Regions from separate parts of the Homo sapiens genome. Here all the other regions are linked to region 4. The links are contacts of gene promoters, found by promoter capture Hi-C in blood cells and fetal thymus (Javierre and others, 2016). All regions are on one chromosome and are shown on one strand. Each heading gives the region's core, a stretch centred on a gene start or on the middle of the fragment in contact. The rest is flanking DNA. Distances are from core to core; before and after follow the strand shown.

Region 1 (2,700 bases), core at 131-2,630, 1.2 Mb before region 4:
CCCGGCCTATCAGATTTATTTTTATCTTGTATTCGTTTTATTGATTTTTACATTTTGGCCATTATACTTCAGTTCTTCAAGAGCACTTGCCTTGCTGTTTGTTCTTTGTCCTGTTAATGCCTAAAAGTTTTTTGTTTTTTTTTTTTTGAGATGGAGTCTTGCTCCGTTGCCCAGGCTGGAGTGCAGTGGCACTATCTTGGCTCACTTCAGCCTTCGCCTCCCGGGTTCAAGCAATTCTCCCACCTCAGCCCCCTGAGTAGCTGCGACTACAGGGGCACACCACTACACCTGGCTAATTTTGGTGGGTTTCACCATGTTGGCCAGGCTGGTCTTGAACTCCTGACCTCAAGTGATCCGCCTGTCTCCACCAGCCAGAATGTTGGGATTATAAGCGTGAGCCGCTTGGCCTGGCCACTTTCTATTAATATTTAAGTGAGACATTAAAATGCTGATTAAATGTTTTCTGTGTTTAGATCAGGCTGCTTGTCTGGAGCATGTTACTCTAGAAAGAAGACGCAGGGACTCCCAAAAGTAGGTTTTTTTTCTTCTCTTGGGCCAGTTTCCCCAGGGAAGAGACCTCAGTATCATGCCTAAGGATATGTGTAGTGTCCTTAAGTCCAGAGCCTGTCTCGTTAATTTCTATAGCGCAGATTTTCCCAATCTTTTTGTTCTGGAGACTCCTTGGCATCGTTTCCATTTCTCAGGGAACCCAGGCATTTGTCACCAGGAAGTTGAGATATATTGCTCTAGTAATAATTTATGCTCTTTTGAGTACGAGTGGTTTCTCTATGAATCTGTTTATTTGACCATCTTATTAGCCTATTCATTTTGTATGGTTTTCCTCTCTCCCCTAAGGATATCATCATTATTGCAAGTGAGTAGTGAAGTAAAGGAAACTTTAGTTTTTCCTTCTAAAGAAATTCCTGTATGATTTTTTTTTACCTTGTTTAAGTGATAACAATAGTTTTATCCCCAGTTTTTAGTATACAAGATGCTAATGAGATATTATGTGATCTAGGGTATGTACAAGAGGCACACCCCCAGCCAGCTTTTAAGACTAAACATGTTATTTTTAACTAACTTTTTTTGGGGGAAAATGTGCAGTTAAGCTTAGCTTACCTTTCTTGAAATTAATCTCTTCCCTTTTCTTAGATTTTTAAAAACTTATAAGGCAACCATAATGTTTTGATTAAATAATTTATATAAGACAAAATGGGATTTATTTTTTCTAAAGGTATATTTAATTTAAATGAACTTAGTAAAGTTATTTTTTACAATAGGAAAATTTATAATGTTTATAGTAAAAGCTACTAAAACCATAAAGCAAGGCAATATAAAAAAATATAGCTTAACACAATTTTATCTGAGAGCTTCAAAAATTTCTTTTTCTGTAACAAGATCTGTGTCAAATATAGGTCTAGCAGAATTATTAATGTGTGGCGATTTCTTGGTCTCTATTCTAGACCTGTACATAAAAAGTGATATTTTCAAAACTGAAAAAAACAGTTTATTTATTTCAACAAAACGTGTATATATATTTTTTTCTGTACAAATACTCAGTTCTGGGTTGAGCTTGAAATGAGCACACCCAGATTTCATATTCAACTGAAATGAAACTTTCTTCTTTGATCTTGATGCTTGTTAAACAAGAAGAAGCTTGTTGATGCATATGAGAATTTGAAAACTACAGCAAAATATTCATCGCTTACATGTGAATGACAAGACTTTATTCTTTCCATAGAAATCTAGAACTTATTTTGGGGCAGATGAGGAAATCTTGGGTGGAGCATAGGATCAGGCTGCAGCAAAGTTATCACCTAAACATCTGCTTCCAAAACAACTTGGTTGAAAACTTGTTTTTGCTCTTGCCTCTTTTCCCGTGTATTGTTCTAGTGAGTTTATGTATTTTTATTCTGTTAGTATTATTTAATAGGAAGTATCTGACATTTTTTTGATTGAGGCTGGCATGTAGCAGTTGAGATGAAATTAGTGCTAGTTTAACCCAAAAGAAATTTACTGACATTTTTCTTCTTCTTCATGAGCTAGTATAGGCTGCTGCTTGGAGTCTTCGCCCTCAAGGAACTAACTCTGTAATTGTATGGTTTAATTTACCTACCAGAATGTGTCTCTCTTTCCTCTCCTCTCTCCCCTACTCCATTCTTTCTTTGCAGGCAATAATGTGCACATGATAAAAATTATAAATGGTAAGGAGAATACAGTCAGCAGTCTTCTTGCTGTTTGTCTCAGTTCATTCTTCTCAAGAGAAATCCAGTTGTTTCTTTGTATAATTCCAGAGCTATTCTATGTATATTCAGATATATGCATATGTCAGCTGGGCTTGTTGGCTCATGCCTTTAATCCTAGCACTTTGGGAGGCCGAGATGTGTAGATTGCCTGAGCTCAGAAGTTCGAGACCAGCCTGGGCAACATGGTGAAACCCCGTCTCTACTAAAATACAGAAAAAAATTAGCCGAGTATAGCGGTCGGTGTGCGCCTGTAGTCCCAACTATTTGGGAGGCTGAGGCAGGAGAATTGCTTCAACCTGGGAGGTGGAGGTTGCAGTGAGCCAGGATTGCGCCACTGCACTGCAGCCTGGGTGACAGAGCGAGACTCTGTCCCCACCCCCCCCCCAAAACAAAAAATACATATATATATATGTATGTATGTGTGTGTGTGTGCGTGTATGTCGTTGTGCACATA
Region 2 (2,700 bases), core at 177-2,676, 1.8 Mb after region 4:
CAACAAAAAGTGAATGAGACCTCCTACATGCCAGGCACCAGGGAAGTGTCGTAAATTCAGCAGTGAAGAGGCAAGGTCCTTGCCTTCATGGTGCTTATTGTCTGGTGCAGGAGACAGATCATAAACAAATAGGTATATTGACAAGACCTTTCCAGATTATAATCATAGCTATGAAAGAAGTAAGATGATGGTGAGATAGAGAATAAGGGCATGCCATCTGAAATAGGGTGGTGACAGCAGGCTTCTCTGTGGAGGTAACATTTGTCCTTAAGCCTGAAGGATGAGCAACAACCAGCCCTGGAAAGCACCAATGAGGAGTACTGCAGGCAGAGGAAAGAGCGCTTGCAAAGGCCCTGGGGTTGGAAAGAGCTCACCATATACAAAATGTCTTCAACATCTTATGATCTTATGATGAGCAGTGTGAAAGGAGGCCTTGCTTGGTTGGCAAAGGTTATGATGTCAGGACTTGGGCAGAGATGTTCTGATACGTAGACCCAAAAGAAGGGGCAGAGTATTCTTCCTCCGAAGACCTAAGTACTCTATCTTCGATACAGAAATCCCCTTCCAAGTGGTTCTGTGTGGCATCCCTAAAGCTGGATTCTGACAAGGGCCAGACATTTCGGTGCCCTGAGAGAAGGACCTAAGCTTGGTGAATCTTCCAGCACAGGCTCCGTTGACTAACCCAGCCTTTGGTGCCCTGCTGGGAAGTGTCAAGCGTGGAGACAGTTATGGAAACTAGAAAGCCCTTTTTCATGTTTGCCTAGTGATGAGAGGAAGAGATGAGATTGTTGCTTTTTCATATCTCTCCCGTGGACTCTTAAAATTAACTTCACTGTCAAAATTTCCCATGGCCCAAATGTAGGTTTGGGGAGAGAAATGTAAGACTTTGAAGTTGAGAAAGAAAGTAGAGAAAGCATTCTCTAGACAAATGCTCACCATGCAGACTTCAGAATCTGTGAGGAGACAAATAAAAAGGCACTCGGGGAACCGTTTTAGAGAGAAAATAAAGAACTGGGAGTAGAGATGGCTACTTCAGCTCAGGAAAAAAATAAATAAAACAATACAAGGTAGTGTTAAAGCTTTGAAAGGAATTTTTCGTTTAGGAGAGATTATGGATAATGAAATGCAAACACTCTAGTTAATATGTCTGTTAGCTGGTTTATGTTGCCTTCTGGAAAACGAGTGATACGTTCTAAGAGGAGCAGCTTTTCAAGTTATCCTACTTGACTATCGTTGGGGTGAGCTCTGAGTCTGTACCCCGGATTCCTTTACCAAACACTGGATATTAGACACTAGATGCAAAGCCGTATTTATTCCAAAGCCAGAAACTTCCTAAGCCTCTGCCTAACTCTTCACAAATGAACCTGACAACACTGAAATTTCTAAGGAGATTTACTCCAGCTGTAGCAAATCCCTCATAATAAAAAATTTCCCCAAATGAGTCAGTCACACAGGAGGTAAATGAGACATTCTGTATGAAGTCAGCATGTCATTTGGAGTGTGCCCTTTATATAAAAGGCCCAGCCAGAAGACCATGTGGTTAAGTGGGGCTTGTCCACAGGGCAGAACCAGAAGACTGGAAGTTGGGGGGATTTCAGCTGCCGAACTGTAACTCTGTGTCACTTCCCCTCAAGCAAACCTTATAGAAAAATCTAGTTTTTCTAAGAAGTTCAAGTAAGGTTTGTTGATTATTTGCTTCACAAAAGGATTCAGCAGAGGGGTCCTTTAACTAACAAGCTCAGAGAAAAAATTTATAGTATGATTGAATTATATGAAGCTTTTTCAAAAATGCATCCCTTCTCTATATGTGTGTTAGATACATAAGGATGTATTTGTTGCAGGCAGCATTACAAGAAGGGATTTGGGGTGGTCTGTATCCGTTGAGTAAATTGAGGCAAGCTTGTAACAGTGGCATTTGTTGGGCAGCCCTGCTTCATTGCTGATTCTGTTAATCCCCTAAATGACTCCATGGGTGATTAGGCAACCAGATAAAACCCTCTCACTTCTGATGAACAAGCCAGTGGGATGGCAGGGCCTCTCTTTGTCCTTCCTAGAGAAATTGGCAACACAAAGACTGGAACTATCTGGTGAAGCTTTAAAAAAAAAGTTTAAAAAATTATTTATTGAATGTGGGTCATGTCCTTGGCACTGTTCCAGATGTCCCGACCTACTGTGTCTCATTTATTCCTCACTCCAGTTCTGTGACATGGATGATGATGGTGATGATGATGAACTTCCTTCTACATCTGCTAAATCATGACAGCTGGATTCTTTTACAAAGAAGAGAGAAAAAATTACCAATTATCCTACCACCCATGTCTGTCGCCATTGTTCATATTTTAGTAGTCTTTCAGACTTCCTCTGTATGTTTATGTGAGGAAATGTATGTATACCTTTTAAAACATACTTTTAAAAAATCTCCTTTTTAAAAAGTTAACAGTATAGCGTGAACATTTTTCCATAAAAACAAAAAATTCTAGACCTGCAGACTATTGATTGTAGCAGGAGAGTATTCCATTTTATAAATATCCCAGATGGATTCACCCTCCCTCTACGGTTGGGCTTTGAAACCATTTATAAGCAAAATATCCTCCCACTTTTTATATTTTTTCAAAATATATGCACAAAGATGCATATGCATCTTTGCACAATTGTCTGATTATTTTCTTAGGAAAAATTCCTAGCAGTAGGATTGCTGGA
Region 3 (2,700 bases), core at 167-2,666, 1.8 Mb after region 4:
AAATTTTAGCTAATTTCTATTGGGACATGTTTGTATTTAGGAAATGATGTGTCCCCAACCCTAGAAAGGAAAGATCAGTTATCAAGAGGAGAAGTAGAATGATTAAGTGTGTTTTCTTTACAATTTTTACTGATATGTTTCAAGAATTCTGTTCTCTCCAAGAAAAATAAAAACAGAAATTCTAGTATTTATCTTTGTGGATATATGTTTGTGCAAATGATGTGTGATATTTTATGAGAAGGTGTGAACGTATGTATAGGACTAAAGTGTGAATTACTGATATGTATATGTACTTGAAGTATGTTCAATATCTATGTTTGTGTGTGTTTCTGGGTGTGAATGCAAGCCAAACAAGAATGTGAATTTATAAATTTGTAAGTATTGAAAAGGTTACCAACACACAACTGAAGCAGATGTTCTAATGAGTTCTCTGATACTTCAATAACTGCCCTGATTTTCTCCAGGTAAAGAAAGGATAGAAAAAAAGCAATGGATGACTCCTTTTTCTTTTGGTTTAACAGCAGACAGTACAGACTATCAGCTATGGGATATATATATAGTTTAATTTTTTTGTGTGGTGGTGGTGAAGAAATGATCACTTCTGCTGTAGATGAGAAATTAAACCTTCCTGCGAAGAAGTTTCCTGTCTTTATTGCTGATCTGTGTGCCTGGTCTAATTACTAAAAGTTTAAACCTGGGGTGTGGGGAATTGAGGGAGAAAAGTTCCCCTTTCAAGAGTAATTGGAGAGAAGTAGAGGAAGGGATGGGGAAAGGAGGGAGAGAGTGTGGGTAGGGAGAGTGGAGAGTATGTGGAAACCATAACAGTTACTAAACAGGAGCTCAGCTCAGGTTTCCTCTGACGAATTCCAAGGCAAAAAAGTGTGGTTTGGGGTGAGTTGGTGGCAGGGCTGCAGTTTTCTGCAAAATATCTGGCAGAGGAGCTGGACCCGGTAGAAAATTCCCCCTTCTGCTAGTTGAGTAAGAGCAGCTGGTGATCTATGTCCTCACACCTCTGCCTTCTCAGAGGACCACTCCACCCTATTTCATGTGCATAAGCCAGGACCAACGGGCCTCAATTTGGCTGGCTAGATGACATTAGGTTCCCAGCATGGGTGAGTGGTGTGGGCACCTGGAAAGCCTATGGGTATTGGCTGCAGAGGAGCTGGGCCTCATGGCTGGCCTCATGTGGTCTGGGTGGGAGGGATGAGCTCATTGTCTTCATGGGCTGGGGTGGGTGCAGGGTCATTAGGTAAGAAGATGATGTGCTGTGTACCAGCCTGAGGAAACGGCTGCTTTTGTTTTCCACCCAGTAGGAAATGGACCTGAATTCATTCCATTCTGGGCAGTTCAATACGGCACAGTTTGAGCTCGTGGAGGCTTGATGCCGAAAAGGCTACTTGTGTGGATTTGTGTCCCAACCACCCGTGTGCAGCGTGCCCATCTTTTATGCATTTAAAGCCTGTCAGGCCGGTAGTCTAAAGCAGAGGTCTGGGAGATAGTAATGCCAACAGACATGGGGAATAGTAAAGTGCACCTGTAGAGTTAAAAAATGCATGACCTGTTCCCTCAAAGAGTGAACACAGGAGAAAGACCCATCCTGGAGGGCGGCTGCTGAGTCGTAATACATAATTCACGGGCCCATGCTGCTCCATGCAGATGGCGATATTAAATCGTGATTGATGCTAAGAGACACACACATCTCAGGAAGGTCTCCGAGAGGCTTCTGAATATTTCCATGTCTCATGTGCCTTCCCAGCTTCTGTTCTACTGTGGTATTTAAGCAAAACTCCCTATTTCCCAAGAATCCCTGCTGGGGATTGCAGAACTTTACTCCCGAATAGATGAGATTCCTCAAATGTCATCACCCACCTTTGGAGCCTTTGAAGGTGGCTCCCTTCCCTCCCAGGCCACATGAAGCTGTCTGCCTCCAGCCAGGCACTGCAGGTACAGGGAGCCAGCCCTTCCTGCAAACGGCCAGTTATGGCTGGACAAAGCAGCAGCACACTCTGGTGGTGGTGACCAGGCAGGAGGGACAGTGGGCAGACAGCGCAGAAGAAACAGATGTTCATTCAACACAAAGCACCTTTGTCGAAATTCCAAGGCTAGAGCCAGTAGATTCTCTAATACAGATTTTTCCATTCGGTGTATAATGAAATAATAAATCAAATTTGTGGTATATATGGAATTAAATGTTTGGGGGGTTTGCATTTTTTTTCTTAAAAAAAAATTTAAAAAGGCTGCAATCACCCTCCAGGGCCTGTTCTGGCCCAAAGCTGAAAGTGCTTCCTCTGCACCACATGTAATTGTTACCAGGCTCGCTTGTGGGTCGGCACCACAAAACCACCATTGTCAGTTCCCAGAGCCCTGACTGCTGGCTGCCTGGGCTGGGCTGGGAGACACCGAATAAAATGAAGGATTTATGAGATAAAGATAGAGATAGGAGGTTGAATGAGGAGAGGAAGATGGGCCAAGGAGGGGAGGCAGGAAAGGCAGGGAGGCATGTTGAGTTTGCAGTCCTCTTGTTTTTTTAATCACAGACCATGTAATTGAGAATATTTATGGCCATGTTCTGGAATACTTTCATCTGTGTGTGTGTGTGTGTGTGTGTGTGTGTGTGTAGTTGGGTGGGTAGGGGGAGGGATGAGCCGGAATAATCTCTTCCACCGAATGAGTAAGTAGGTTAGTCTTCTGGACTGCCAT
Region 4 (2,700 bases), core at 141-2,640:
AGCAGTGTATAGAAAACAGGCAGGTCAGAAAAGGCTTCTGTGCATCACACCAACATGGCACATGTATACATATGTAACAAATCTGCATGTTGTGCACATGTACCCTAAAACTTAAAGTATAATAATAATAAAATTTTAAAAAAAAAAAGAAGAGGCTTCCTGGAGGAGATGACAGCTGAGCTAAGTCCTGGAGGATGAGAAGGAGTATAAAATAAGATAATAGGAGAAAAAAGGCAGTAGGAACAGCATGGGTAAAGGTGATGAGGCCTGAAAGAGGCACGTGGAAGGAAAGACAAATGCAGGAAGGGGGAATGGGAGGGAATGCTGGGGTACAGGCCAAAGAGGGAGGCATTTGGTGAGTATTCTGCAGAGTCTCCTCTGCTGTGCTGAGGTGTGGACAATGGGAAACCATGGACGGACTGGAGTAGGCAAATGTCATATTCCCTGTTACAACTGTCTGTTTGCATGTCAGCCTTCTAGAAGCCCCTTAAGGTATCAACTATGTTTTTGTTTTGTCATCATTCAATCCTAAGTGCACAGAATTCCGGGCATATTACAGGTTCCCCATGAATGTTTCTTTCTTTATTAAAATGTATGAAAACTCTCCAGATTTAAGGAAGGTCCTCAATGTTTCAAATTCTTTTTGTTAGATCATTGGTCCTGTCTACAGCTGTCACAAATTTAAGGACTCTGGTTATATTTAATCTTCACTTTTGAATTTTCTGCTTGAAAAATTTGTATTAGAAAAAAAAGTCTATCCTTTTATGGACGGCTCTAATCTCTTGAATCATTTGGGTTGGCTTTTCTTTGGACCTTCTTCAACTCTGTTTTGTCTCTGTTGAGTTAAGGCTTTTAAGAACACCTGAATTCTTTCCTTCTGCAAAACCAGAGGCAGCTTCTTTTCCGCCTATTTTCAGTTTATTTCTTGTGATTTTAGTTTTTTTCTCTTAACCAAATGCTAAATGGATTTAGGAGAAATAAACTTATTTGTAAAGCTGTCAAGGGACCATTAGAAGGATGGTGCTTCACAGATAGAATACAGTTTTTATTAATGATGCCTAGACAAATCCTGCCATTAGCCCAAGGGCTCAGAAAGTTAGCAGCCTAGTAGTTTTGGAGTTGTCAATGAAATGAATTGGACTGGATGGTTAAGGATGCCCAGAAGATTGAATAAAATTGGGATTTAGGAGGACCCTTGTACTCCAGGAAATTCTCCAAGTCTCCACTTAGTTATCCAGATCCTCAAAGTGAACATGAAGCTTCAGTTTCAAATTGAATACATTTTCCATCCATGGATTGGCTTGTTTTGTTCAGTTGAGTGCTTGAGGTTGTCTTTTCGACGTAACAGCTAAACCCACGGCTTCCTTTCTCGTAAAACCAAAACAAAAAGGCTTTCTATTCAAGTGCCTTCTGTGTGTGCACATGTGTAATACATATCTGGGATCAAAGCTATCTATATAAAGTCCTTGATTCTGTGTGGGTTCAAACACATTTCAAAGCTTCAGGATCCTGAAAGGTTTTGCTCTACTTCCTGAAGACCTGAACACCGCTCCCATAAAGCCATGGCTTGCCTTGGATTTCAGCGGCACAAGGCTCAGCTGAACCTGGCTACCAGGACCTGGCCCTGCACTCTCCTGTTTTTTCTTCTCTTCATCCCTGTCTTCTGCAAAGGTGAGTGAGACTTTTGGAGCATGAAGATGGAGGAGGTGTTTCTCCTACCTGGGTTTCATTTGTTTCAGCAGTCAAAGGCAGTGATTTATAGCAAAGCCAGAAGTTAAAGGTAAAACTCCAATCTGGCTTGGCTGGCTCTGTATTCCAGGGCCAGCAGGGAGCAGTTGGGCGGCAGCAAATAAGGCAAAGAGATAGCTCAGAACAGAGCGCCAGGTATTTAGTAGGGGCTTCATGAATGCATGTGAGTTGGTTTAGTAGAGAGACACAGGCAATTTCAGACCCTTCTATGAGACTGGAAGTGATTTAAGAGGGAAAGGATAGCCATAGTCCTGAATACATTTGAGCTGGGTTTCAGGATGAGCTCACAAGTTCCTTTAAAAAAAATTGACTTAAGCAAATCCTGGGAAGAGTTTTTTTGCTATACAATTCAAGGTTTTAAGGTCCTCGGATTCATATACTTTATAAATGAATTAGCCAGCTTGTTTAAAATGTAGGGAAATTGTGGGAAGAATGCCTTCTTTACTTAATTCAAGGTTTTAAGGTTCTCTTAATCAATTCTACTAGCTAATTAGCCAATTATTTAAAAATAAAAGTTTGAAATTGCCAAAAAAAAAAGACAAGGAAAAGGAAAGAAAGAAAGCCACCAGTCTGTTTGGCATACAATACTTAATTGTTGCCTGACCTACGTGTGGGTTTCAGATGCAGATCCTCAGTTTTCAGCTCTTCAGAGACTGACACCAGGTTTGTTACACGGCTTAAAATGATGAGTATATCCATTGAATCTCAACCTTATCTCTCTCTAGACCTTCTTGGTTAAGAAACCATGTAGTTTGTATGAAGTAGGTACTCAAAAGATATTTGATGATTTAATTTTTACTGGAGAAGAAATATTCATATATGTTTTCTTATTTTTACATGTTTTAAATATGTAAAGATTAAATAAACACTCTTAGAAGTATTTAAATTTCCTAAAGTAAATTTATCTCAACCAGTAACAGGACCCTCCCAATACTGGAAAGTTGAGTGTGA

What was found. The method cuts DNA at HindIII sites, captures the fragments that hold promoters and counts their contacts. A CHiCAGO score of 5 or more calls a contact.
Region 1: a contact is called between a fragment that was not itself captured here and the fragment with the promoter of CTLA4 in region 4, in 1 of 17 cell types (total CD4 T cells). The highest score is 5.5, in total CD4 T cells.
Region 2: a contact is called between a fragment that was not itself captured here and the fragment with the promoter of CTLA4 in region 4, in 1 of 17 cell types (M0 macrophages). The highest score is 6.1, in M0 macrophages.
Region 3: a fragment that was not itself captured here is called in contact with the fragment with the promoter of CTLA4 in region 4 in 2 of 17 cell types (M2 macrophages and M0 macrophages); the score reaches 5.4 in M2 macrophages.

The regions. Positions count from the first base shown.
Region 1 is chr2:202,645,898-202,648,597 of GRCh38, forward strand. All of the region lies in intron 1 of FAM117B (family with sequence similarity 117 member B), which reads left to right. Among named protein-coding and RNA genes, the nearest start is that of FAM117B, 12 kb to the left of the region's middle. The HindIII fragment of the contact is 547 bases long and covers 1,108-1,654 here.
Region 2 is chr2:205,711,201-205,713,900 of GRCh38, forward strand. All of the region lies in intron 2 of NRP2 (neuropilin 2), which reads left to right. Among named protein-coding and RNA genes, the nearest start is that of NRP2, 30 kb to the left of the region's middle. The HindIII fragment of the contact is 698 bases long and covers 1,078-1,775 here.
Region 3 is chr2:205,694,728-205,697,427 of GRCh38, forward strand. The region is part of intron 1 of NRP2 (neuropilin 2); the gene reads left to right. Among named protein-coding and RNA genes, the nearest start is that of NRP2, 14 kb to the left of the region's middle. RefSeq lists an enhancer at 737-1,571. The HindIII fragment of the contact is 9,122 bases long and covers 1-2,700 here.
Region 4 is chr2:203,866,381-203,869,080 of GRCh38, forward strand. It overlaps CTLA4 (cytotoxic T-lymphocyte associated protein 4), which reads left to right and starts at 1,391. Exons shown (of 4, transcript NM_005214.5): 1 at 1,391-1,671. The coding sequence starts at 1,563. The HindIII fragment of the contact is 240 bases long and covers 1,258-1,497 here.